2 separate regions of the Homo sapiens genome follow, and region 2 is linked to region 1. Evidence: promoter capture Hi-C in 16 types of primary human blood cells and fetal thymus (Javierre and others, 2016). All regions are on one chromosome and are shown on one strand. Each heading gives the region's core, a stretch centred on a gene start or on the middle of the fragment in contact. The rest is flanking DNA. Distances are from core to core; before and after follow the strand shown. Region 1 holds the start of PTGDR2 (prostaglandin D2 receptor 2). Region 2 overlaps VPS37C (VPS37C subunit of ESCRT-I).

Region 1 (3,350 bases), core at 576-3,075:
GACTCCTTTTTCCCATCCCCAGAGCACTGGCGGGTGAAGGAGGCCCCACAATTAGGGCAAGAGGATTCTGCTGGCCTGGGCGATGGAGATGCTGCCCCTTCCCACAGCATCCACAGCGCCCCCAGATGTTGCCTCTCTACAGATCCTCCATGCAGCTCCCCGCACTCAGTGGTGGCTGGTTAGATGTGCCGACCATAAACAGTGGAACCAGCCCCTCCTCTGATGGTTGGAGAGGAAATAAGATAAGAGCCAGGAGAGCTGGGGAGGAGGAACTCCCACATGGGGCTCTGGAGGCCCAGTGGGGCCAAAAGATCTCTCCCTTCTCAGGAGCAGCCACAGCAGCTCTCTCCGCCCCAGGAAACCCACCCCTGTTCATTCACTTACTCCATCATGCACTCATCCAACAAATAAGACGTGCATGCTTACATCCTCATTGAAAGCCCGAAAGACCATCTGATGTGAGGCTGGTCAAGACCAGTGAGGGCTGAGGAAATTCCATGAGGCTCCATGCAGGAGGTAGGAGGCAAGTAGCAGGGGACAGGGACTCAGGGTGTCCTGGGCACCAATGACACTCCAGGTACTATGGTAGGTCCTTCACATAGGTGCTGTCTTTCTGGCTCTAGAAAAATGGTGCTAGTACTCCATCCTATTTTACAGATGAGAAAACTGAGCCTCAAGTGGTTAAATAACTGGCCCAGAGCCACCCAGACAGCACAAACATGTGGAGGAGAAAGTTTCATGCTCAGCCTGTGCTCTTTCCTCTACCCCTACTCCAAGGAAGAGAGGATGGAGGAGGAGGAAGAAAAGCGGGAGAGGGGAGCAATGGTCTTCAGTACTCATCTTTCTAGGGAAAACACTGTTGGCCAGGATGAGAAAACCCACTCCCTTCCAGAGACCACAGTCCTTTGTAGAGTGGGGTTCTGGAATATCAAACTAGAATTCTGCTGGCGGAGGAGCCCCTTGGAGCTAGAGACCTGCAGGTAGATGGAAGAGGAGCCTGTGCTTCCTGAGAATGGTCATACTTCCTAGGCTTTAGAATGTGCAGAGCAGTTACTCTTGCAATGAACCTATGACACCCCATTTTTCAGAAGAAGAAACAACAACTTGCCCAGCGTTCCTCAGCTGCAACAGTGGGGCTGGGACTTCACTCCCAGCAGATAGCCAAGTACCACCCGCTGTCTGCCCTGAAACATTCCCTGCAGACCAGCTGCTGCTGATCCAAGTCCTATGGGGATGATCAGAGAGCACAGTCCTGCCACACCCTTGGGCACCACCAGATCAGTCCTTCTAACTCTATAGAGACAGCCCCCAGCCTCCCAGGATTCTCAGGAGCCAAGCAGCTAAGGTCCGGCTTTGGCAGGTTAAGAAAAAAAAAAAAAAAAAGGGACAGAGAGTGCAAGCTGTGGGAGTCCAAGACCTGGGTTTGAATCCCAGCTCCTCAGCTTCCTGGCTGCGTGACCTTGGGCCAGTTACTCTAAGCGTGCTGGTGTCATCTTCCCACCCAGACTGCTTGTGAATATTGACAGACAGTTGAGTGGTTTCCCCTCGTATCTGACATCTAGTTAATGCCTAAGAGAAGCTAATCCTTCCCTCCTCTGAGCACCAAGTCCCCTCCAGTCTTTGGTAAACTCAATCTTCTGCCATCCTAGCTGGTAACAGCCCTCTCACCTGGTAAAACTTTGCCTTCTTCTGTGGGTCTAGAGAGGGCACTAGGCTGCCCAACCCCTGGGCCACTCCTCCTTACCTGGGCACAGAGGGAGCACAGGATTCCAGCCCTGGAGGCAGTCAGCTCCTGACAGCAGCTAGACAAGAGGCAGCGGGCAGACAGAGGTGGGAGAGGGAGGCTGAGAGAGGAAATAGCTGTCAGCCCCAGTGCATGTGTGTTTAGGGGTGGGGTTGGGGGAGGCGGGGACAGCTGGAGAGTGAGTTGCCACACAGATGTTCAAATATCATCAATTTCCATCAATGCCGGCAGCCCCTGCTCCACCCATCCCCGCTTCATGAAGGAGACTGCAGAAGTCCAGAGGGCAGTGCAAGTGCACGTGAAAAAATCGATGTGTGCAAGAGAGTGTGAGCCCGAGTGTGACTAGGGGTGTGCTTTTGAGAGTGACCAGTGTGTAGGATAAGTGCGTGAGAAGGAGAATGTCTCATCCATCTGTCCACTGTTCCTGGGCTTCCATCTCCCGACACCAGAATCCTCAGAGAAGAAACCCCTCCAGCTGTTCTGAGTTTCCCAGGCAGTGTGGGGGCCTGTCCATGAGGGACCCGAGGGCTCTAAGGCCAGGAAAGTACAGTGGGGTAGTGGGGGCAGTGGCAAGAACGCAGTCCAAGAGGTCAGTCACTTCTGTTTGCTGAGCCCTGGGGTTGTCATCTGTGAACGGGAGCAGTAACATCGGCCTTACAGGCTGTGGTAAGGGTTGAATGAGATGGATTGCACAAAGCTCGTGGCACACAGTAAGTGCTTATAAAAATCAGCTTCCTTCTCCTCTGAGGGAAAAATGAATATAGGCTCTAAGGCAAAGGTCATATAGCTTTTATTTAAAACAGGCTCAATTTTGGGAGGCCGAGGCGGATGGATCACTTGAGGTCAGGAGTTCAAGACCAGACTGGCCAATGTGGCAAAACCCCTGTCTGTACTAAAAATACAAAACTCAGCCAGGCGTGGTGGCACATGCCTGTAACCCCAGCTACTTGGGAGGCTGAGGCATGAGAATCGCTTAAACCCAGGAGGTGGAGGTTGCATTGAGCCGAGATCACACCACTGCACTCCAACCTGGGTGACAGAGTAAAAACTCCATCTCAAAAAAAAAAAAATGGAAATTTAAACTAAAAAACAAAAACAAACAAACAAAAAAACACACAGGCTCAAAGCCCTAGGATAAGAGAAGTTTGCATTTCATTGTTCCCTAACTCCTTACTCTCATTTGCTGACCAAGCTTCCTGGGGTCAGGACCATCCCTTCAACCTCAGCATCTCAGCACCTAATGGATACTCATTAAAACATTTTAAGAACTCAATATCCCTGTATCGAGGCAAAGGCACCTCCCATGAGATGGACAGCACAAGCATCTTCCATTTAGGCCTAGTCTTAACGCAGAGACTAATGCATAATACGCTCTTGCTGAGAGGCTACCATCATGAGTGGAAAATGAGTAAAATGCTATGCCCTTGTGATGGGGATAATACATCTCACTGTAGCCCAATATGGCAGATCAGTAAGAGCCTTGGTGATCCAAATCATTAACAATAGGAAAATGTCCCCTCTCCTCCAGGTCAGGGAAGGCTTGATTTCCAAAGACAAATGCCTGCAGCCCTCCAGAGAACATAGGTGGATGATTCCATTCTGCATG
Region 2 (3,087 bases), core at 129-2,628, 280 kb after region 1:
GGGATAAGGGGGCTGCAGGGGCACTGAGGGCTGGGGCTGGCCTGGAAAGCTGGGGAGCTGAGGCTGTATTGGGTAGGGAGGTTTTCCTCCTGTTGCGGGGTATGGGGACTGTTGAGGATAACCAGGACTGGGGGCCCTGCCTCCCCGCAAGGGGTACCCAGGCCCAGAGGCACCCATTGGGGTCCCAGGATAGCCCGGCCGGGGTGGCATGCTCCTCTGTGGGGACCAGGAGTAACCCGCAGCACCCCTGGGTCCAAGCTGGGCTGCCGGGTAAGTGGGGCCCAGAGGCCCGCTGTAGAAGGAGGGCTGGGACACTACTGGGAAAGGGGCCGGTGGCAGGGCTCCATGGGCAGTGGGGCCCACAGGCAGGCTGGGGGATGGGCTGTAGGGCAAAGGGTAGGGAGGCATGGCTAATGGTGGCTGCGGCTGCTCTTCAACCACAGGGGGTGTTCCCTGGGGGACTGGGCGCACCGGGGGTGGTGGACGGGGTGGAGGGGCATCGCCGGCCAGCTCCTGGGAAGCCCTGGGCTTCCTCACCACTTCCTGGAGCTTTTCCACGCGAACCCGGCGCAGGTGGGACAGCATCCTCATGGAGGAAAAATTCTCCAGGAACGTTTCCAGGGGCACCTCGCCCTCCAGGAACTTCTCAGCCATGGCCTGGAAGACATAAGGTCCAGTGACAACAGGGGCAGCTGGGATCAAGGCCTCTTGATTTTCCCCAGGGTCTGAGTTCAGCTGCAGCCCTCCCACCTCACGCCGCCTCAGGCACCCCCTCCTCTTCCCTGCCCATACGCCCCTTCTCACAGCTGACATATGGTACATGCACTGTCTCCCTCACTAGAATGTCAGTCCCTTGAAGGCGAGGACTGTCTCTGTCGTGGTCACCTCTGTCCTGGCACCTTGGCATCATGCCAGGCCCACAGTGGCCACTGCATATATGTGCTGAACACCTGGATGAGCACTAGCCCAGGGACTGGGAGGGCCTAGAAGCTTCTTCCACCCAGACACAGAGTGGACAGCACCAGTTTGCCCACAGAGGCTGAAGAGGTGGCCGGAGGGAAGCAGGAAGCAGGGAGAGTGGAGTAGGGAGCTGGCCTCAGCCCCTGGGGGCCTCCTGCTGTGCTGCCCTACCATCCAGGGCTGCGAGCTGCCCTTGTCCACTGTCACCCGTTTCTGCTTCAGCTAGTGGGACTGGGTTCCTGTTATTTATACCCAAAAGGCCTCCCCAGGACTAAAGATGTCCTTCACCTCTGCCATCTACGAAAGCTCCCTTGTTCCATGCTTTGCAGACATCTGCTTCTCCTTCCAAGGGCCCCTGCTGCAGGGACTGACACCCCGTCCAGGGAAGAGGGGTGTCGCCTCGCCCTCTCACCTCGGACTCTTCTTCGATCTTCATGCCTTCCACCTGCAGAAGGTCTAACAAGGTCCCTGGCTGCAGTGCTGAAGAAAATTTCTCTGGAAGGGAGGGCAGAACGACTGACATTTGAAAAGTGCTTCCTGATTCAGTGTTAAAGGCACTTTGCATACCCTCTGTGTGCATCCAGGCCCAGCCACCACAGCAGGGTCCACCAAAGGGTCCTTCTGGGTGGGCTTGATGAGCACTTTTGGTCCAGTTCCTTCCTGAGCAGAGAAGGGCCCGAATGAACCTAGCCTAGACCTTGGCCAAGCCTACCCTACGCCATCCTGGGATGGGAAATGACTTGGGCTTCAGAGCCCAACTGACCCAGTTCTGCCTGCCAGCAAGGGGAGTTACCTAACCTGAGTGTCAAGCTTTCTCACCATCAAGACAAGGACCACCCTCCCACCTTCAAAGGTGACAGGTCCTGGGACACAGAGAGCCCAGAGCAGCTCAGGAACAGCTCAGTAAAGCATAGAAGCTGAGCTGCCAAGGGTAACGGCAGCAGCAAAGGATGCAGGCTGTCTCAATTCAAATCCCAATTCCACCTATTTCTAAGCTGGGTGACCTTAGTCAAGTTATTGAATCTCTCTGAGCCTCATTTTTCTTACCTATAAAATGGAGTAACAACAGTACCCACCCTTCTATGGCTGTTGTGAAAAAATATACATAAAGCACTTAGCACAGGGCTGGGAACACGGTGGGCCTCCGTCCAACCCTGAATGGGGACCCTGAGTTCACAGAGGAGCCACCCTACCCAGCTTTGCCTTCTGCTCCTGGCACCGCTCCACGAGCTTCCGGAGCTCCTGGTATCTATCCGAGAGGTTTGAGCGGCTGATCTCCAGGGGACCCTGGAACTCCAAGTTCCGCTCTGCCAGGCTCCGGTTGGTGGCCAGTGCCATCTCCCGTTCCAGCTGTAGGTCCTGGACCTAAAAGGGCAGGACAACAGAACCTAAGGAAAACGTCCATCACCCTTAACCTCCTGGCAGCCTGGGTCAGGGGCTTCGGGGACACATTGCTCACCTTGGGGCGGAGAGGCTCATCCTTGGGGCAATACTCAGCCCTCAACTAGTCAGACAAAGCCAGGTTCAAACCCTGAATGAAGTACTCTGCGCCTCACTTAATCCTTAACCCACAGCCCACGAGGTGGAGACGCATGGGAACCTGGCGCTGAAGGTGAAGAGCTCGCCCAAGGCCATGTGATTGATATCCATGATGGAATGTGCAGAGCCCCAAGGAGGGGGTGGACCAATTTACATGAGAAAAAGCAGAGGCTTTCCAGGAGGGAGGGGATCAAAAGTCCCAATTACTTATCCCCAAGCTTCAGAGTCAAGAGACCTACCATGGTGGGCTCAGGTGGTCCTGGCCAGATGCACAGGCAAGACATATAATGAGGCCCCAAATAAAGTTATTGTGAGGGGTGAGAGAGCCAGGTCCCTGGACCAGACCATGCCACTGACTTAGGAGAGACCTGGACCTGCCTCCTATGCCACACATGTGTCCTGCAGAGAAGCTGCACAGATGAGCCAGAGGGGCCACCCTGGACATTCCCTGCTGCAAACACTTCCCCAAGCCAAGCGGCACTTTACCCCTCTGCCAGGCTCTTCGTCGCTGCCAGCCAGTGAGACAGAAGCCAAGGCACCCTTGCCAGCTGTTGTGATGTGACGCCCCATGCATCCGCCAAGGAGTCC

What was found. Contacts are between HindIII fragments. The CHiCAGO score rates a contact against its expected background, and 5 or more counts as called.
Region 2: a contact is called between a fragment that was not itself captured here and the fragment with the promoter of PTGDR2 in region 1, in 1 of 17 cell types (naive CD8 T cells). The highest score is 8.1, in naive CD8 T cells.

Annotation. Positions count from the first base shown.
Region 1 is chr11:60,854,125-60,857,474 of GRCh38, forward strand. It overlaps PTGDR2 (prostaglandin D2 receptor 2), which reads right to left and starts at 1,826. Exons shown (of 2, transcript NM_004778.3): 1 at 1,745-1,826. The HindIII fragment of the contact is 12,934 bases long and covers 1-2,934 here.
Region 2 is chr11:61,131,883-61,134,969 of GRCh38, forward strand. VPS37C (VPS37C subunit of ESCRT-I) reads right to left here. Exons shown (of 5, transcript NM_017966.5): 3 at 2,154-2,325; 4 at 1,373-1,455; 5 at 1-657. Among named protein-coding and RNA genes, the nearest start is that of VPS37C, 28 kb to the right of the region's middle. RefSeq lists an enhancer at 2,875-3,087. The HindIII fragment of the contact is 780 bases long and covers 989-1,768 here.